3 separate regions of the Homo sapiens genome follow, and regions 1 and 3 are each linked to region 2. The links are contacts of gene promoters, found by promoter capture Hi-C in blood cells and fetal thymus (Javierre and others, 2016). All regions are on one chromosome and are shown on one strand. Each heading gives the region's core, a stretch centred on a gene start or on the middle of the fragment in contact. The rest is flanking DNA. Distances are from core to core; before and after follow the strand shown. Region 1 overlaps SPAG9 (sperm associated antigen 9). Region 2 holds the start of ANKRD40 (ankyrin repeat domain 40). Region 3 holds the start of LRRC59 (leucine rich repeat containing 59).

What was found. Contacts are between HindIII fragments. The CHiCAGO score rates a contact against its expected background, and 5 or more counts as called.
Region 1: a contact is called between a fragment that was not itself captured here and the fragment with the promoter of ANKRD40 in region 2, in 1 of 17 cell types (M2 macrophages). The highest score is 6.9, in M2 macrophages.
Region 3: a contact is called between the fragment with the promoter of LRRC59 here and the fragment with the promoter of ANKRD40 in region 2, in 1 of 17 cell types (M0 macrophages). The highest score is 5.1, in M0 macrophages.

The regions. Positions count from the first base shown.
Region 1 is chr17:50,961,731-50,965,418 of GRCh38, reverse strand. It overlaps SPAG9 (sperm associated antigen 9), which reads left to right. Exons shown (of 30, transcript NM_001130528.3): 30 at 1-3,245. Among named protein-coding and RNA genes, the nearest start is that of TOB1-AS1, 97 kb to the right of the region's middle. The HindIII fragment of the contact is 1,352 bases long and covers 756-2,107 here.
Region 2 is chr17:50,705,824-50,709,335 of GRCh38, reverse strand. ANKRD40 (ankyrin repeat domain 40) reads left to right here and starts at 1,422. Exons shown (of 5, transcript NM_052855.4): 1 at 1,422-1,815. The coding sequence starts at 1,682. RefSeq lists silencers at 1,477-1,686, 1,817-2,086. The HindIII fragment of the contact is 9,335 bases long and covers 1-3,512 here.
Region 3 is chr17:50,395,660-50,398,956 of GRCh38, reverse strand. It overlaps LRRC59 (leucine rich repeat containing 59), which reads left to right and starts at 1,434. Exons shown (of 7, transcript NM_018509.4): 1 at 1,434-1,744. The coding sequence starts at 1,640. LRRC59-AS1 (LRRC59 antisense RNA 1) reads right to left here. Exons shown (of 2, transcript NR_199069.1): 2 at 400-1,741. RefSeq lists a silencer at 1,388-1,457. The HindIII fragment of the contact is 2,181 bases long and covers 156-2,336 here.

The DNA.
Region 1 (3,688 bases), core at 182-2,681, 260 kb before region 2:
GTGATGTTGATTGAGTTTTTTCCATGTAAAAAATGTACTTGTTTGCCAAATGTTCCTAGATTGCTCTTAACCTGTTAATACAAGTAAAACTGTAGTGGGGATGGAGTCTGGCCTAAGTACAGAATGAGGGATTTAATTAGAAAAGTTATTTTCTTTTGTTCTGTATCAAACTGCAGAACAGCTATATACTTGGTATTTTGTACGTGAATAACGTTTTAGCTTTTGTGCCCTTTTGAGCTTGAAGGGTTATCCTCAAAGGGGAAAACTATGAAGGGGAAGAAGACAAACCTAAGATACCATAAAGTAAAGGTTGACATTACATATTTTCATTCACAATGCCCATTAAAAAAAAAAAATAGGTTGGGCATGGTGGCTCACGCCTGTAATCCCAACACTTTAGGAGGCTGAGGCAGATGGATTGCTTGAGCCCAGGAGTTCAAGACCAGCCTGGGCAACATGGCGAAACCCTGTCTCTACCAAAAAAAAAAAACAAAATAAATTAACCGGGTGTGGTGGCACATGCCTGTAGTCCCAGCTACTTGGGAGGCTGAGGTGGGAGGATGACCTGGGCCCAGGAGGTGGAGGTTGCAGTGAGCCTTGATAGCACCACTGCACTCCAGCCTGGGTGACGGAGCAAGACCCTGTCTCAAAACAGACAAACAAGCAAAAAATAGATTAAAGTCTGGATTTCACTGATTTTCTTGCTTAATAAGTTTTTTAAAACCACGATGCTGCAATTTTTTCCCTCTCAAGCTTCTTGAAAATGTGTGATTTACCCTTTTTTATCTATTACTCTAGGCAAAGCTAAATATGATTTTTTTTTTTTTTTTTGAGACGGAGTCTGGCTCTGTTGCCCAGGCTGGAATGCAGTGGTGCGATCTCAGCTCACTGCAACCTCCACCTCTCAGGTTCAAGTAGTTCTCCTGCCTCAGCCTCCCAAGTAGCTGGGATTACAGGTGTGTGCCACCCTGCCCAGCTAATTTTTGTATTTTTAGTAGAGACAGGGTTTCACCACATTGGCCAGGCTGGTCTCAAACTCCTGACCTCAGATGATCTACCCGCCTTGGCCTCCCGAAGTGCTTGAATTACAGGCGTGAGCCCCCGCGCCGGTCCGAAGCAAAGCTAAATGTAATTTTATGTACTGTTTTAACAGTATAAACCTATGGGATAAAGGCCCCCAATCATCAGAAGGACTACTGAAAAGAAAAGAAAGCAAACGTAGATGTCAAATTGTCTAAACATTCTTAAGTACCACTGATTTTTTTTTTCTGGACTATTATACAAAGATGTCTGTAAAAAGTATACCAGTGGCTTTTATGCATATACACGATTAGGCTAGATTGTGAAGTACATGGGATTTCATGAGCCAGAGGAGGCATTTGGATCCATTGGGCCACATGTGACTATAAGCACATTGTGTACACAATAAAATTGTAGCCACTCATGTATTAAAACTGTTTTGGTAAAAGCTGTATTAAAAGAATAATTTTTTGCTTGAGCTACTTAGTCACTTTTTTGCAGGGCACCAAAATGTAGGCTACTTTTCCATAGCTTGTTTGCTATGTTTTTATTTCATCTTAAATCTGAGCCATTTTTGGCAATATCTTTTAAAAAATCATTATTAAACATTTATTGGAAATGTTGTATAGATTCACAAGAAAGAGACACCAAAGTGTTTGGGAATTTTAATCCCAAGAAGTAAACATCCCAGAGTCAGATCCCATTTGCTGTTGTTCAGCCATGTTTGTATGACTGAATGTAATTTAGGAAATCAGGAGTTAGAGATGAAAAATACAAACATGTCAAATGGTTGTAATTGCTTTTTTTGAACTTACTGGCTTTAACTTAAGTAATATAGGTGTGTAGTTGTTTTATCTAAAGATGTCAGATTATCTGTGGCCCTGTTAATTAACTGCAGGGACCAGAGAGAGGACAAAAATGCCTGTATAATTTGCTTTAAAGGCTTGTCCTTATGTTTGTAATTTCAGTTAAATATTTTCTACAGATTGCTTCACTTCCCCTTTCCCCCAATAACAAGTTCATATTCTTGTAATGTTTACTTTGGTCAACGTGGTAATTTTTGGAAGAAAATGCCAAAATGTAAGCTTCTCACAAGCAGCAAAGGAATGTAACTGCCTGTAGCTACCACATCAAGGGAGAGAAGAGGCTTGCGTACTTTGGGTTGATCTCACTGTACAAAAAAAGTGTACCCCTATTGGAAGAAATAAGGAATACTTGAAGGTTTCTCCTTTTTTTACACTTGAGTCATGTGCAAGGTTGAACCATATGAAATTGCCAGTGTTCAACCATTGCTGATCTGCAAAAGCGACAATATCATATGCCTCAACCTAACACTTACTCTTAAATGCAGGTTAAAATCTCTGTGAGGCAAAGGGATAATATTCTCTAGGAACTCACTTTTGAGAGTATTTTTCTCTAACCCATGTGGATCTAAATTTTAAAAATAGGAATGAATCTCTTAATTGCAGCTTGTGGAGAGTATAAAACATTTTGAGCACAATATGCAGCACATAACTTTTCAGATTGTGTTTGCATAGAAAAGGTTAAAATCAATTCTTTCAGTTACTGTATTGTTCATTTCTTGTAAAGGTCTTCCTACATTTGAGACGAGACCCTTTAACATAGGCTGCCTTAGTAACAAAATAAAACAGATGTGTCATAATATTAACTGTCCTAAAGAACATGTGTCTTGCAAATGCCATGGAACTGAATATTTATTTCCTTGTGAGTATTATGACCGTTACCAAAGGACTCAACCAGATTTAGGGCTCTTCTTAATTGATCATGTTCAGAAAGGGACTCATTTGGTCCCACTTTGTAACATGGGAAGAGTAGAAGAGAAAATTAAATGTGGAAATCATAAATGCTTTTCTAACAGGGTTATGCTATTCTGTAACACTAAATGTCTGTCTTTTCTCTTAAAAGATTAAGTTTTATTAATTTTGTCATACATTTCTCTATTTGAATATATCTTAACCATTTTATGTTCCAAATTCGTTTTTTGTCCAAGACATTCTATCAGAATTTTACTTGCCTCTATAATCTGAAAAATGGGTTCTAGAATGTCCCACTTGCTGTCTCTTAGAGGCTGAGCTTCATTTCTATGAGCAAAGAGCTCATTTAGCAATGTAGTTATTTCAGTATTTATTTCTATTATGGAATCCCTGGGGTTCAGAATGTAACTTTGTACATGAGATATATATAAATATGTATATGAACATGTATGAGGTCTAGTGTGTTTTGTTTTGTTTTTACCGTTCCTGGGGATCTGAACTTGGTTTTTATTTGCAAGTCCAATAATCTTCCCCATCACACATGTCATTCCTGAGGGTCAGGACTGTTGCCATTTGGCACCAGCTAAAGGTGAGCAGTGGGGAACCCTCATGCTGGTCAGCTTGGCTCACGTGTTCAGGTGAGATATGAGAATAGACAAGAGGGCTTAGGAGAAATGTGGGATCCCTGAGTAACAGCCCACACATGATACTAAGGCATACTATTTGCCAAATTATTCAATAATAAGAGGCAGGGTGTAATGTAATTTTAACGCAGCGTGCTTATTTGTGATCCATTTGCTTGGGCAAGACTCGGGAAGGAAGAATGACTATAAAACTGATCATGTGGCAGCACAATGTGACTCCAGATTCAGTGCAGCGAGATTTAATCTCTT
Region 2 (3,512 bases), core at 173-2,672:
CAGCTGCTCGGGAGGCTGAGGCAGGAGAATTGCCTGAACCTGGACTTAGAGGTTGCAAGGAGCTCAGAGATCGCCCCACCGAACACCAGCCTGGGCAACAGAGTGAGACTCTGTCTCAAAAACAAGCAAACAAAAACAACAAGCCACTACCTACTCCCATGTCACTGAAATTGTGTTGAAGGACTCAAATCCAGTGCCATACACATCAGTTTCAGATAGAGTATCATGCTGGATGTGAGAATTAAAATTTAAATTGGGGGAACAAATGAAAATGTAAGCTCAAGCAGGGTTACAATTTGCCATGGGGGTCAATTTAAGTGTGTAGTCAGTTTATATTCAGCACCACCTGGTGTGCACTGTGTACTGTGTGAATTACTGTATCATACTAAACAAACAGACATTGGTTTTTCTTAAACTGTAGCAAGAAAAATGCTTGCTGTGCAGATCCCAGCAGCCCCAAGAGACGGAAATGAAAACTCCATGCCTAAATTTATCCCTTCCTATTTCATCTCTCCTTGTTCAGGCCTTCCTCCCTTCCTCCCCAGGGCTATTTCCTTAATCTTGACCCCATCTGTAAAGTTCCATCCTGTGCCACATCGGAGGATCTCTTCAGGGCACCTGGGCTCAACAAAACAATATTTCCTTTTTCTCCCACTGGGTATAAAACAGTGCCAACTGAGGCTCTGAGCCTCATTAGATAGATCGGGCAAGAAGTGAAGCAAAATGCTGTTTACATGTACACCACAGCTCTTCCCAGAGCACTTGGAATCAGGACCAGGACACCTCCAAAGCCTCTTTGGTGTTTTTCCTTTCTTTTCTCCTTATATGGCCTTCATGAAGAGTAACTAATTACAATCTGTAAGCAGTAATTACAGTTCATAAACTGTGAGCACAATATAAATATTTTTCCTGAAAGCCAGGTTAGAAGAAATCCTGTCTAAAATGAGATGTAAAACAACAACAATTGAAATAAATATTCTAACTGAATTGTCCCCAAGCACTGTCAAAAAGAAGAAGAGTCTAATCTATCTCTGTAATAATGGGCGTATTATAGTAGGATCGTTTTCAGCCCATTTCCCCATCCTGCTGGGCACGAATTGGCTCAGATAAGGAAAAGGAGCCAACCAAACTGGGGGAAAATAACAAAAAAACCCCAAATCCCAATAAAAAGAACCCACCAATTATTTTGGATGCCTGGTAAACAGCCTGCACCAGAGGATAAGGCTTTTCTGGCCCTCAGCTATGCTTTTTTCTCTTTTCATGTGTCTTGTCCTCCTCCCTTGAAACTGCGGGGTGGGGAAGTCTAAAAATAGTCAATGAATCATGGCATATAATATTGTGCAGTAGTTACATAAACAGCCAGCCCGGGCGCCGGAGCCCCGGGTCGGAACGGAAAATATCTGGGTCAGCGTTGTCACACTGAACAGGGTCCCCCGGAGCCGGCCTTCGGGAGGCGCGGCCCGGGAGGAGGCCTGGGCCTGCGGGCCGGGAGCAGCAGGGGCGGCCCGCGGGAGGGAGCGGAAGTCCCGGGGCGGGCGCGGGCAGCGGCGCGAGCAGGGCGGGCGAGTTCCGCGCTCCCTCCCCATGGCCGGGAGCGGGCCGCGGCGACGGCGGCGGCGCTGACAGGCCCCGGGCGGGGCGGGGCAGGCGGGCCTGGGCGGGGGCCTGGGGCTGTGGGAAGATGAACGCCCTCCTAGAGCAGAAGGAGCAGCAGGAGAGGCTGCGGGAGGCCGCGGCCTTAGGGGACATTCGGGAGGTGCAGAAACTGGTGGAGAGCGGGGTGGATGTGAACTCCCAAAATGAGGTCAACGGCTGGTAAGTGGGGAGCGGGGGAGGCCTAGGGTCAGGGCAGCCGGTCGGAAGGCGTGGGGCAGTCAGTCGCGACCTGGGCCCAGCGCGGGACGCCTGGCTACGGCGAGGCCTGCCACCTCGGGCCTCCGAGATTGTGCTCTCTTGAGGCCAGCCCTGGCCCCCATGCCTCGTGCGGTCGGGAGCGCGTCCTGCCCAAATCCCGGCCCACGTGGTCCACTCGGGGCAGCGCCCACTGGGACTCTGGTGCCCTACCCCCTTCCCCCGCGCTCCCGGCTCACTTGGTCAGAGCGGTGCTGGAGGCAGTGATTCTCAGCGACTATGCGTTGGAGCTCACCCCAATTCGAGTGTTGAGTTAATTTGCCGTAGGTGCTTCTGGAGAACGCATCTTGCAGAGCTAAAAGCATAAGCAACTGAGCAAATATGAATTTTATAAACTAGCACGATTTCCTTAGCCAAGACCAGGAAAAAAAAACACATTTGCATCACCATTCTGCTTCTCTGTTGTTTCACTGCAACCGATTTGCTGCTGCTGCCTGTAGTTGCCTGTTTGAGGGAAAACTCATTTGTTTATCCTATCGATTATTTTCTTTCTTTTTTTTTTTTTTTTTTTTTTTTTTTTTGAGACAGGGTCTTGCCCTGTCGCCCAGGGTGGAGTGCAGTGGCATAGTCTCGGCTCACTGCAACTTCTACCTCCCCGGCTCAGGTGATCCTCCTGCCACAGCCTCCCAAATAGCTGGGAATACAGGCACGCGCCCCCACACCCGGCTAATTTTTTTTTTTTTTTTTTTTGGTATTTTTGGTAGAGATGGGGCCAGGTTGGTCTCAAACTCCTGGCCTCAAGTGATCCACCCGCCTCAGCCTCCAAAAGTGCTGGGATTACAGATGTGAGCCTACCGTTCCTGGCCAGTTTTCTTATTACAATTTCAAATACAGAATGTCACCCAAGACTTTAGATGTCTGCCTGCAGATTGAATTCTTCCCAATTAAATAAGGAGTCTCATCTTAAGATGTTGCTGGTGGTCAAAACAGAAAGTTACTGAATGTGGCATTATTCCGCTCTCTGCATTTAAAATTTAAAATTTTGATTCAGGTAATGCTTAGCCAGACTATTTTGCTAGCTTAGAGTTAAAGTGAGTAGCACTTTGGGAGGCTGAGGTGGGCGGATCACGAGGTCAGGAGATCAAGACCATCCTGGCCAACATGATGAAACCCCGTCTCTACTAAAAATACAAAAATTAGCTGGGCGTGGTGGTGCATGCCTGTAGTCTCAGCTACTTGGGAGGCTGAGGCAGGAGAATCACTTGAACCTGGGAGGCGGAGGTTGCAGTAAGCCAAGATTGCACCACTGCACTCCAGCCTGGGCGACAGAGCAAGACTCTACCTCAAAAAAAAAAAAAAGTGAGTTTACATTTTGTTTTTTTAAGTGGAATCATCCATTTTGGAACTGAAAGGGACAATGGAGAGAGGCTCAACCACAGAGAATAACTTGCCCTAGGCCACATAACTATTAATATGATAGCACCAGAACCATGGTTTCCAGACTGCCTCAAAAGTCTACCTACCTGGACCTGGCGCGGTGGCTGACGCCTGTAATCTCAGCACTTTGGGAGGCCAAGGTGGGCAGATCACGATGTCAGGAGTTCGAGACCATTCTGGCCAACATGGTGAAACCCTGTCTCTACTAAAGATACAAAAATTAG
Region 3 (3,297 bases), core at 185-2,684, 310 kb after region 2:
AGATTTTTTATTTTTTATTTTTTTAGAGATGGGGTCTTGCTATGTTGCCCAGACTGGTTTTGAACTCCTAGCCTCAAATAATCCTCTCATCTTGGCCTCCCAAGTATTGGGATTACAGGTGTGAGCTATCCTGCTCGGCCCCTCTGAGATAAGCTTTAATATCCCTATTTCAAAATGAGTAAACTGAGGTTTGGAGTGGGTAAAGTGCTTCCTTCCTTCATTCATTCATTCATTCATCCATCCATCTATTCATTTATTCAACAGACATCTGAATGAGTAGCTACCCTGCATCAGGGTATGCCAACTCTGGGCATACGAAGATGATTAAGACAAAAATCCCTGTCCTCACAGTCCAGAATGAAGGACAGACACATAAAGATGAGTATAATACAAGGTGGATCATGAATTGTAGCTAATATTTATTGGGTACTTACTAAGTGCCAGTGACTGCTGTAAGCTCTTGGTGTGTTTTACTCCTTCAGTTCTCCCCAACCTCTGTTAGCTACATGTCTCATAGATTGATTCATAGATAAGACTGAAGCCTGGTGATTGTCTACGGTTTTATAAGTAGCAAGTGGCAGAGCCAGGATGAATACCCAGTGGATAGGTATTAGTGCCAGAGGTCCCACTTGGCCATCAAGCTCTACTGTCTCTGATGATAAAGTAGCAAACAGGGACCTAAGTTGGTTGGGGGGGGCGCTAACTCAGTCTGGCATTCACGGTGTTCAGGGGAGATTTCCTGAAGGACTAAGGAATTAGCTAGACAGAGGTGAGTGGGGGGGAGGGAGGGCCATCGCTGGGGAGGGCCAGACGTGGGAGCCACCTCCTGGAAATCTACACAGCATCTAGGCCAGGCAGGGACTGGAGCGTGTGAGGAAGCTGCGAAAGCAGGCAGGACCCAGCTTCCAAAGGAAAGTGGTCCGTATCCTAGAGGTAGCTGCAAGTTTGAAGGGTTTTACGTAGGGGAGAGACTTGGCCAGATTTTTAGAAAGATCACCGGGGAGCTGGGTGAAAGTGGATGGAAGGACAGAGACAAGCACTGAGGCAGTGAGTGGGGAGGAGAGAGGAGAAATTCAGGAAGAAGAGTTTTCCCCATGATGGTTATTCGGGGGTTAAGTAGAGGACAGGGAGCAGTTTTAGAGGACACCCAGCTTCTGCTCCTAATCAGGGGGATTGGGGTGATCTGATGAGGTCAGTATTGGATGTCAACCCAGTCTTCTGGCGCCCAGTCCGTGCCCTTTCGCCTCGTGGCACTGCCAGCAATAATGCCCGCGGGCCACGGGTGAACGTGAACCGAGCTCGCAGCCTCCAACCCCACCCCTCCGGCGGCGGCGACGTGCAGTGCATCACCCTGGGCACCAGGGGGCGTGCCCGCACACGCTCGGGCCGCTCTGGCCCAGCCCATCTCAGTGGTCGCGGAAGGTGACGTGGACACGGAAGTGGTCGTCGTCGCGGCACCGGTGGGAGCTAGGCGCGAGGCTCGGAGTGCGGCCAGCGGGCGGAGGCGGTCTCGCATCGGCGGCGACGGAGGGCTCAGGCGTCGTCGTTTGGGTGGGGGGCCGCTGAACTGACAAGCGACATTTCAGCTCCTTTCACCCGCCGGAACCCCGGAGCCGGGGCCCGCTCAGCCGGCGTTACCATGACCAAGGCCGGTAGCAAGGGCGGGAACCTCCGCGACAAGCTGGACGGCAACGAACTGGACCTGAGCCTCAGCGACCTGAATGAGGTCCCGGTGAAGGAGCTGGTCAGTATCGTCCCGCGAGGCCCAGGCGCCCACCTTCGCCGGGCGCTGGCCCCTACGTGGGCCACTTACTTTCCTCTTCTCTAAAAGCATCAGTTTCCTTTTCTTTAAAAAGAAGCGGGGTGGTGGGACTAAGTCCCCTAGGAGGCCGCGTCCAGCCCAAGGTTCTTCCCGGGATGTACACGTGTCACTTTGGCGCAGTTCCAGAACATAGGGAAGATCTGCTTCTCTGGCCCTAGGCTTTTTACAGGCTAAGAAGCGAATCTGTCACCTTTGCGGGGCTTTCACAGCGCCCACCTCCGTGCCCGACTCTGAGTAGGAGCACACGGAGCAGTTACTGGATGTATTCGAGAATGAATGAGTGACTTGTTCCAGGGGAGTAGGCCTCCTGGTAGACCTGGGTGTGGCCCAGAACCTGGCTCTTCTAGGAAGCTGGCAATTCCAGCTGGCTGCCCGAGCCCTGAGGCAGCCTAACTCGAAGAAAGTAAAGTCTCCCCCCAGCTTGGCTGGTAAACTGTCATCTGAATTCCGCTGAAACTGGCGGGAGTCCCTTTCGCCCCTCTCTCCCCCAACCTTTCCCCTGTAAACTGAAGCTTACAGCTCCAGAGAGATAGCAGGCATCTAGTTTTGTCAGCGTGGAGCTAGTTCCCACATCCCTCCTTTTCCCACTCCGTTCCCCCTCCCACCCGCGCCAACGCCCTACTAGACTCACTTTGGGTGACCCACACTTTGCTTTCTGCCGTTGATAAATTACATTTGCCTTGGGCGCTGGGCCCAGTCTTTCTTCCACCGTGGACGGGTATTACAGTGGTTAGAACCGGGTTCCTAGCTCCTCCCAGCTCCATTGCTTAATAGCCGAGTGCCCTTGGCAAGCTAGTTAGCCTTTATGCCTAGATCTCCTCATCTATACAATGGTGATAATAGTTTCCATCTCATACGCTTATTGGGAGGTTAAATACCATTGTAATGGAAAATGCTTGGAAGGAGCAAATACTGATACTTGTAGCTGTTGTTGTGTTTTTCCCGCTGTAGTATTTAAAACTTTTTTAGGTGGTCAAACTTCACTTTTACGACTTTGTGACAGAAAGTGCAGGTTGCCAGAGGATCCTTAACTGAATATATGCCTCCTTTTCTACCCCAGGAAGATAGATGGCCAGCCTTATTTCACCCTGCCCTAGGACTGCTCTCTGAAACCATATACTCCAGGCATCTGAACAGTCCAGCATTAACCTTAGGGAGAAAGTTTTGCTGAGCTTGTCCAGCCTGGACACCATGGGAAAATAGAGATGGGCTGTGAGGGCCTTTTTTTTTTTTGGATGATGGAGTTTTGCTGTTGTTGCCCAGGAGTGATCTCGGCTCACTGAAACCTCTGCCTCCCGGGTTCAAGCGATTCTCCTGCCTCAGCCTCCCGAGTAGCTGGGATTACAAGCGTGTGCCACCATGCCTGGCTAATTTTCTATTTTTAGTAGAGACAGGGTTTCTCCGTGTTGGTCAGGCTGGTCTCGAACTCCTGACTTCAGGTGATTGCCTGCCTCAGCCTCCCAAAGTGGTGGGAT